2 separate regions of the Homo sapiens genome follow, and region 1 is linked to region 2. The links are contacts of gene promoters, found by promoter capture Hi-C in blood cells and fetal thymus (Javierre and others, 2016). All regions are on one chromosome and are shown on one strand. The core of a region is centred on a gene start or on the middle of the fragment in contact, and the rest is flanking DNA. Distances in the headings are between cores, read along the strand shown.

Evidence for each region. Contacts are between HindIII fragments. The CHiCAGO score rates a contact against its expected background, and 5 or more counts as called.
Region 1: a contact is called between the fragment with the promoter of BEST4 here and a fragment that was not itself captured in region 2, in 16 of 17 cell types (erythroblasts, megakaryocytes, monocytes and 13 more). The highest score is 17.6, in erythroblasts.

Annotation. Positions count from the first base shown.
Region 1 is chr1:44,785,367-44,790,435 of GRCh38, reverse strand. BEST4 (bestrophin 4) reads left to right here and starts at 2,266. Exons shown (of 9, transcript NM_153274.3): 1 at 2,266-2,882; 2 at 2,970-3,064; 3 at 3,740-3,973; 4 at 4,208-4,362; 5 at 4,760-4,837. The coding sequence starts at 2,731. RefSeq lists enhancers at 3,038-3,723, 3,725-3,814, 3,724-4,409 and a silencer at 3,935-4,064. The HindIII fragment of the contact is 5,761 bases long and covers 1-5,069 here.
Region 2 is chr1:45,305,205-45,309,690 of GRCh38, reverse strand. LINC01144 (long intergenic non-protein coding RNA 1144) reads right to left here. Exons shown (of 1, transcript NR_024270.1): 1 at 4,072-4,486. Among named protein-coding and RNA genes, the nearest start is that of LINC01144, 3.5 kb to the right of the region's middle. RefSeq lists an enhancer at 3,099-3,278. The HindIII fragment of the contact is 1,403 bases long and covers 765-2,167 here.

The DNA of each region.
Region 1 (5,069 bases), core at 1,017-3,516, 520 kb after region 2:
ACAGTTACAAATGAGCTAGGCATATACACCTACTATGCACTCACAAAAATTAAAATTAAAAAAAAATTTTATATGAGCTAGGCAGAGACTGGTGATGAGGGTAGAGGTGGGTAAGTCTCAGAGGGCCTTGTGTATTCAGCTTAAAAGCCAGGATCCAGCACTGTTTGGTCTGGGGCAGGTTAGCAGGACATGAAGAAAAGGTCTCTGCCTCCTCATTTCTCAGGGACTGTCTGGCTTGGAAGGCTTGGTAGGCAAGACTGGACCAGTCGTGGGAAACCAAAGAGAACAGATTCAAATTTTCATAGTAACAGCAGCCCAAGCCAACCACCCACAGTGCTTTAGGCCATAGGCATTGTTTCTGTGAATACTCAAAATTGCCCCATGAGGTTAGGCGTTCTTGATTCTGATTTGCAGAGGAGGAAACTGAGGTTCAGAGAGATTAGGTAACTTGCACAGTTACAAAGAGCTGGGGTTCAGACCCAGGTTTGTCCAATTCCCAAGCCTGTGCTCCTAATCACCTCTCTATGCTTCCTATCTTTAGGAAACTTGCAGAAGAGAACCAGCTCACAGTGTAGGGGGAGGAGCTTCCCAAAACAAGACAGAGGCAGGACCACCACTCTTGGGATTTTTCAGTGTTCACTTACCTCAGCACTGGGAGGGTAAGTAAGCTGCCAATTCTCTTCCACTTTGAGGTTCTATTTCTTTTCTTTTCTTTTTTCTTTTTCTTTTTCTTTTTTGAGACAAAGTTTTGCTCTTGTTGTCCAGGCTGGAGTGCAATGGCATGATCTCGGCTCACCGCAATCTCCACCTCCCAGGTTCAAGCGATTCTTCTGTCTCAGCCTCCGGAGTAGCTGGGATTACAGGCATGTGCCACCATGCTCAGCTAATTTTGTATTTTTAGTAGAGATGGGGTTTCTCCATGTTGGTCAGGCTGATCTCGAACTCCCGACCTCAGGTGATCCGCCTGCCTCGGCCTCCCAAAGTGCTGGGATTACAGGCGTGAGTCACAGTGCCTGGCCTTTTTTTTTTTTTTTTTTTTTGAGACAGAGTCTCTGTCACCCAAGCTGAAGTGCAGTGGCACAATCTCAGCTCACTGCAACCTCTCCCTCCCGGGTTCAAGCGATTCTCCCATTGAGATTCTATTTCTTTTTCTTTTTCTTTTTCTTTCTTTCTTTTCTTTTTTTTTTTTTTTTGATTACCCAGGCTAGAGTGCAGTGGCACGATCTCAACTCGTTGCAACCTGCGCCTCCCCAGGTTCAAGCAATTCTCCTGCCTCAGCCTCCCATGTACCTGCTGGGATTACAAGTTCGTGCCACCACACCCGGCTAATTTTTGTATTTTTAGTAGAGACAGGGTTTCACCATGTTGGGCCAGGCTAGTCTCGAACTCCTGACCTCAAGTGATCCACCTGCGTTGAGGCTGCCCAAAGTGCTAGGATTACAGGTGTGAGCCACCTTGCCTGGCAGCGGAAGTTCTATTTCTATCAGCGCCTTAGGTATTACTTCCTCCAGAGGTGAAAGTGGCCACTCAAATCTTGGGCACCCCTAGGAGTCAGGATGTTGGACACAGGGCTTAACGGAGCCTGCACTCCTAGGCCTGAGCTTCCAGATCTGTGGCTGTCAGCCCCGTGGCATGGATGGAGAAGAGCCTGGCCAAGCCCCCAAGCCCCTGTACAAGAAGACTGGGAGTGTGGCCAGTGCACAGGATGGGTCCTGGAGCTCATGCCTTTGCTAGGCCACTTCCAGCCTTGGAAGTCCATCAGCCCTGGCTTTGAATCCTGCCTCCAACATGTTCTAGCTGTATGGCCGACGGCGGGCAAGTCATTTACCTCTTGGAGCCTCATCTGTGAAATGTGGATGATTGATTCCCTACCTCATGGTGCTGTGATGAGGATTTCTTGAGAGGATGACCTAGTAGTGCCCTTGGCATGGTTCCTGTCACTTAGTCAGTGCTCTGTGATCAGCAGCTGGTATTATTATAACAGTTTATCATGCATCTGTCTTCCCACCTGAAACGTGGGACAATAACCCCTGTCATACTGGCTTGAAGGACATGGTGTCGTCTGTGTGAGCTGTGGGGTCAGTATAGCTGGCATTTCTGCCACTCGAAGGCCAGCCCAACCCTACAGGGGTAAGGAGACACACCCAGTTCCCAGCACCAGGGGAAGCTGGATGACAGCTTCAATCCATCAATGATAGGCCTCAGTCCAGCCTAACTTTATGGACTGCAGAGGTACTTAAGTCTGTGGGGGTTGAAGTCTAGCCCAGTTCATCTTCCACACGGGCTGCTGCCCAGAGCAGGTAGGCAGGTATGGGATGGGGGTGAGAGTGCCCTGGGCCCTGGTAGTTCTAGTTAATCAGCTTCCAAAGCAAGGCCCCAAGGAATAGCAGTGGATTTGGGCTGGAGCTGCGTCTCTTGTCCGCAGCAGTTCAGGATCTGGTTATCCCTAGCCCTGCAGGCTGAAGAGGAGCTTGAGGAAACCTCATGCATGAAGGGACACAGATCTCAGTTCTACCTTGTCCAACTCTAGCCTGGCTTTGCCCATGTACTGCTCAGTTCTGCAGGGGGTGGGGTGTACTTTTCTGCTCTGCAGGCTCCTACCCCCTTGTCCACTGACGCAGGGTGAAGGCTGGGGTGTGTGAGACCAGAGTGGAAGGGAGGTTGTCTGGAGAACTAAACGACAGCCCTGGGGGCAACTCTTGTGACCTCCTGCCCCAGGCTCCCAGCACCATGACGGTTTCATACACTCTCAAAGTGGCGGAGGCCCGCTTCGGAGGTTTCTCTGGCCTGCTTCTCCGCTGGAGGGGAAGCATCTACAAGCTCCTCTACAAGGAATTCCTCCTCTTTGGGGCCTTGTACGCTGTGCTTAGCATCACCTACCGGTAAGGGCAGGGTCTTAGAGCTGGCGCAAGTGGGGAGACTGGGCCACCCACCTCCCTCTAACCCAAGCCTACACCTGCCTTCCCCAGGCTGCTGCTGACCCAGGAGCAGAGGTACGTGTATGCTCAGGTGGCCCGGTACTGCAACCGCTCAGCAGACCTCATTCCCTTGTCCTTTGTATTGGGTAAGGCTCCCTTCTAGTTTTCCCTGTGTCCCCCTTACTGTGTTCCCTGACCTCTGGGTTGGGTTGACAGCTCCGAGGGTCAGAATTACCCAACAGATGGTGTGGTGACACACCTGCAGTCTCAGCTACTCGAGAGGCTGAGGTGAGAGGATCGCTTGAGCCCAGGAGTTCCAGTCCAGCCTGGGCAATGTAGCGAGACTCTGCTAAAAAAAAAAAAAAAAAAAAAAAGAATTACTCAACACGGTGGCAGAGCCTTCCTGGTCAGCCAGAGCAGGCCCAGCAGGCACAGGAGCTGGGTGCTGGGTCCAGGACTTCCAGAGGGCAGGGCCCTATCACTTGCCGGACCCTCACTTCCAGCAAGGCACAAGACACCTGCTGGCCTCACAAGCCCACCCTGGGCACTGCAGGGGAGCTGGACAGAGGTGACAACCCCTTCCCCACCCTCCTGGGAAGCAGTCTCCTGGCTTTGAATCCCCACTTTCCCTCTGCTGAAGGAAGTTTGCCCTCCTCCCTCCTCCTGGCCTCGCACAGCAGGGCACTGGAGCTGAATGTTTCCTTCCCCCTGCCACGATTCAACTGGCCTGGACCAGGCCCTTTGCTGGGGGAGGTGAGGCGCTCCGACCCCCAGGCTCTCCACTCTCCCTTCCTACTCCCTCTATCACGGCGGCCAAGCAGGTTTCTATGTGACTCTCGTGGTGAACCGCTGGTGGTCCCAGTACACAAGCATCCCGCTGCCAGACCAGCTGATGTGCGTCATCTCGGCTAGCGTGCACGGCGTGGACCAGCGGGGCCGCCTGCTGCGCCGCACCCTCATCCGCTACGCGAACCTGGCGTCCGTGCTGGTGCTGCGCTCGGTCAGCACCCGCGTGCTTAAGCGCTTCCCCACCATGGAGCACGTGGTGGACGCAGGTGCGCCGCCCGCCGGGAGCCTCTGGGGGTCCGGCCCACAGCCGGATGCAGGTGGCGCCTGGGAGAGTCCTGGGAGCAGGGGCCTCCAGGGAAGGGTCTGGACTGCGACAGGAACGCGGAACCGCGAGTCCTGGGACAGCCGGTGGACGCGAGGGAGGGGAGCCAGACGGCGGAACAGCAGCCTCCCCTGGCGGCAGAGGGTGCAACTGCACCCCACCTGCTTTACCCCCTCAGGTTTCATGTCCCAGGAAGAGAGGAAAAAGTTTGAGAGCCTGAAATCCGACTTCAACAAGTACTGGGTCCCCTGCGTCTGGTTCACCAACCTGGCGGCCCAGGCCCGGAGGGACGGGCGAATACGTGACGATATCGCTCTCTGTCTACTTTTGGAAGTGAGTGGGCTCAGGACCAGACCCATCTGCCCTCCTCCCTCTAATTTTAAAGATGAATAATAATTTTAATACCTAACAGTTGTATGGCATCAGCTGTGTACCCCAGCCTTTTGGAAGCCCTGTACCCATGTTAACTCATTCATCCCTTACAGCAACTCTTGACATAGGTACTATCATCCTCCTTGCACAGATGTGGAAACTGAGGCACAGAGTAGAAAAGAAATTTGCCTAAGTTACACAGCTAGTTAGCAGAGCTGGGATTCAAGCACCCCATCTTAATACACCTCTGAGGGCAGAATGAGAAAGAGCCTCCTGGCCAGGCCCAGGCCTAGTTTGTGCTGGGCACCCCTGTTCCTTCCTCACCTCTGCTGACTTCCTGTTCCTGCTGTTCCCCCAGGAGCTGAACAAGTACCGAGCCAAGTGCAGCATGCTATTCCACTATGACTGGATCAGCATCCCCCTCGTCTACACCCAAGTAACTGCCTCTCCCCTCCCGAGTCCCAGTGCCTACTGTATGTCCTGTGCTGTGTGTGAGATGAGAAGAATTAGCGATGGTACTTGCCTGGCCATTTCAGTCCCCTGAGGCACCGGGTTCATCCTAAAAGCCCCCCACCACCCCCAACAAGGTGACCCTGTCCCCACTGGTACTGCCACACCAGGATACATGTTTGATTACTTGTCAGACTTCCCATAGATCCTCAGAGGCA
Region 2 (4,486 bases), core at 217-2,716:
CTTTTTGACCCAGGAGTCAAAGCCCTGTAACTCAAGGTCACAAGGACTTTAGAAGTACACACAAGAAGACACATGGATATAGTAACCTCAATTAAAAAAATTTTTGGGCTGGTCGTGGTGGCTCATGCCTATAATCCCAGCACTTTGGGAGCCCAAGGCAGGTGGATCACTTGAGGTCAGGAGTTCGAGACCAGCCTAACCAACATCATGAAATCCCGTCTCTACTAAAAATACAAAGATTAGCTGGGTATGGTGGCGTGCGCCTGTAATCCCAGCTACTCAGGAGGCTGAGGCAGGAGAATCGCTTGAACCCGGGAGGCAGAGGTTGCCTTGAGCTGAACATCCCTCCTTCTTAAACAATTAGTCATTTTATTTTAGGACTAAATTTACCATTCAATATTTTTTTTTTTTAGTAAGTGCTTTTTTTTTTTTTTTTTGAGATGGAGCCTTGCTCTGTTGCCCAGGCTGGAGTACAGTGGTGAAATCTCGGCTCACTGCAATCTCCACCTCATGGATTCAAGCAATTATCCTGTCTCAGCCTCCTGAGTAGCTGGGACTACAAGCGCATGCTGCCATGCCTGGCTAATTTTTGTATTTTTAGTAGAGATGGGGTTTCACCATGTTGGTCAGGCTGGTCCAGAACTCTTTACTTCAGGTGATCCACCCACCTTGGCCACCCAAAGTGCTGGGATTACAGGCATAAGCCACTGCTCGCAGCCACCATACAAGATTCTTTCTCGTATAACATTATTTCTCTTTAAGCTTTCTTACCATAAAAAACCTTTTTTTTTTCTGTCTTTACATCTCTTTTTATTTCCTGGTTTCTTTTACCTTGTTTTATTCACAACCTTAAAATAATCTTTGAATTAGACAAAACTTTTTCACCTTTTTTAAGAAAGTTCACACTTTTTAAAATCAAGAATGTTTTCCTATATTATATATTTTATTGGAAAATACCCAAATAATGAAATATCTATTAATTTAACTTTATATTATAAATTAAGACAAATTTGTCTGCCAGTATTTATCCCATTACATTTACCTAATTTTTTTATTTTAATGGTTTACCTAGATTATGAAAACCACAAGTCATGATTTTTTTTTTTTTTTTGAGATGTAATTTCGCTCTTGTTGCCCAGGCACCTGTAATCTACTGTAATCTCCAGTAGCTGGGATTACAGGCACATGCCACCACAGCTGGCTAATTTTGTATTTTTGGTAGAGACGGGGTTTCTCTATGGTGGTCAGGCTGGTCTTGAACTCTTGACCTCAGGTGATTTGCCTGCCTCATTCTCCCAAAGTGCTGGGATTATAGGCGTGAGCTACTGCACCCAGGCCCAAAAGTCATGATTTAAAGTTATGAAACCGCTGGGCGTGGTGGCTCATGCCTGTAATCCAGCACTTTGGGAGGCCGAAGTGGGCAGATCACCGGAGGTAAGGAGTTCAAGACCAGCCTGGCCAACATGGTGAAACCCCATATCTCCTAAAAATACAAAAATTAGCTGGGTGTGGTGGCGGATGCCTGTAATGCCAGCTACTAGGGAGGCTGAGGCAAGAGAATCCCTTGAACCAGGGAGGCAGAGGTTGCAGTGAGCCGAGATTGTGCCACTGCACTCCAGCCTGGGTGACAGAGTGAGACGCCATCTCCAAAAATAAAATTAAAAAATAAATAAAGTTATGAAACTGCCATTGCAAAATTATAACTGAGACAGTGAGGAAGATATGACCTAACTGACTCCATCTTGCTTCTAAACTCCAAGCTGTCGTTGTTCATTCCTGGACTTTGGGAGAAATTTAGTTTATAGTTTAGCTTTGAAACAAAGATGGTAACAGTCCTTTCCCAAAACAAACCTACCTACCATCTGTGGATTAGACTGCCTAAAGCCACAAAATTAGAGGTTATGGTAATTTTACTAAATAATTCAAGATATAACTACATTCATTAAACCAATATCAACATCTTATTTGTTAAAGGTTACACAAGCAAGATCATTCTGTCTTGGGCTGCGTTTATAGTTTTGTTACCCCTATGCCAAATTTTGACACCTTATAATATTTGGCAGGGATGAGTATGAAATTGCTTCATTAATACATGCAAAGAAAAATGTAGGCGGGCAATTCTTAAGATGTTTCTAATATTACCTTACCATTAATTTTAAAGCAAGCTTATTTATTAAAGATTTTACTTAAGTTACATAAACTTGAAAGAGCATTTCACTAGTCTTTTGTAGTATATGATTTAAGCGCTTTTCATTGTTTTAAGCCAATTAATTAGCACTCTTTTATATATTTTTAGTAGTGAAACACTGTGTACACAACACATAAATACACAGACATATTAGGCATGCTTTAGAACTACATTTTACAGATTTATGAAAACCTTTTTTTCCCCTATATTAGACTTTCAGATTCTTGATGACCTATTTCATAACCCTGGGCAGTTTTCAGCTAAATAGCCTTAAATTTGCATATTAAAGGAAACAACTTAGGTGAAAGTCAAATAGCAAAATTTACATTATAAGGTCGGAGAGAAAACGTTTGGTGTGCTAGAGGGAAATTAAAACAGATTTAATTGCCAATTAAGCATAAAATCGTAGAAATTATAAAGGCCTTTTAAATATATATACACACACACATAGACACACACATAAACAAATATCCTATAGCTTTTACTTCAGAACTTTTAGCCATGAGATAAACACAAATTCACCACCCTGCAAAAAGAACTTGTTGGATGCAGTGGTTTTTATCTTAATAGAAAAATAACAGCAGATTTAGAGCAGGCAGAAAAGAAAAAAATCGAGAAAAAGAGCACTTAGGAACTCTATAATTTGCAGGTCGATCTTAGGGCTCTTTTTCCTTAATGTAAATGTGCACAAAGACCATATTATTTCCATTTTACATAAACTTTGGCAAGTAGATGTGCCATACAACCTATGGAGTGCTGGAAAGGGGGTCATTCTCTTTGTTTCCTCCTCATTCTTATATTGTTTCCCAATTTTTTTTTCTCTCTTAATAGGAGGAACTGAGCTGTGGCCCAGGTTTTTTGATTGCTATGTGCTGCTTGTGGGCAGGATGCTACAGTGTGTCATCGCTGAGTCGTTTCCACCCTCTTACATGTCTCAGTTTCTCTCTCCAGAGGTTTATGACCCCAGAAAAGGCTCAAAAGGCTGGGCGATCAGCCCTTATATGCGTTTCCTGGATGAGCCATTTTTAAAATTAATTTTTGTTGGGGATTTCCCTCCAGGGCCGCTGCACGTCGCAAGGGGTTAACCCCCCCAGAGACTCCCATGAGGCCCCCAGTCACCTAGGGGCGCTTTCAGCTGGGAGGAGTAAATGCCTTTTCTCTTCAGAGCTGAGAAAACTGTCATTAACGTATGAAAACAACAGTTCACTTCTTCACGCAAATGCACACAGACAAACCGAATTAAGTTTAAATTTGGGAGAAAAAGCAATAGAGAAGACCCTTTAGAATGCATCTCTGAACAAGAATTAGGATCCTTAAACAACAACTTCAGACTGGAACAAAGCAACAACAACAAAAAAACCAACAATATGATCACTGAGCGCTCTAATGGTAAGGAGAAATTAAGACCAGCTGGTTGTTAATCTTAACTTTATCCAAGACAAACCCCAATTCAGTTACCTATCTAGGGATGGGTCTCAGGCCGAAGGCTGCTTTCTACCATCCTAGAAGCAGGAAAAAAACAAAAAACAAACTCATCTTCCCTGTTAGAAGTGAGCTCAGACTCCATAGGAGTTACCTGCATTCCATTGTCATGGAAGCAGGAGAAAAGTTGCCTTCCTTGTGTTGGAAGCAAGTAAAACTCTAGAAAAAGAGGAGTTGTACAGCAAAATAAACTTTAGATCTTGACTAAATTTTGGGAGATCAGGGATTCTCTGGACGGGGTACTCTCAGACCTCAGCAAATTGTCCTATTGGTTTGAGCCATAAAGTTAGCTCATGCTGGTACCATGCACCAATGGGAGATTTGTCAAAAGTCAGGGGCATCTCCACTCAGAATCCCTCAATGATTACCAAAATGTGAACCCTGAAAATTTGAGACAGGTCTCAGTTAATTCAGAAACTTTATTTTGCCAAGGTTGAAGATGCGTGCCCGTGACACAGCCTCAGGGAGTCCTGGCGACATGTGCCCAAGGTGGTCAGGGCACAGTTTGTTTTCATACATTTTAAGGAGACATGAGACATCAATCGATATATGTAAGAAGTACGTTGGTTCCGTCCAGAAAGGCGGGGACAACTCGAAGTGGGGAGGGGGCTTCCAGGTCGCAGGTAGCTGAGAGACAAATGGTTGCATTATTTTGTTTCTGACAAGCCTCTCCAAAGGAGGCAATCAGGTATGTGTCTATCTCAGCGAGCAGAGGAGTGACTGAATAAAATGGGAGGCAGGTTTGCCCTGAGTAGTTCCCAGCTTGACTTTTCCCTTCAGCTTAGTGATTTGTGGGGCCCCAAGATTTCCCACAAG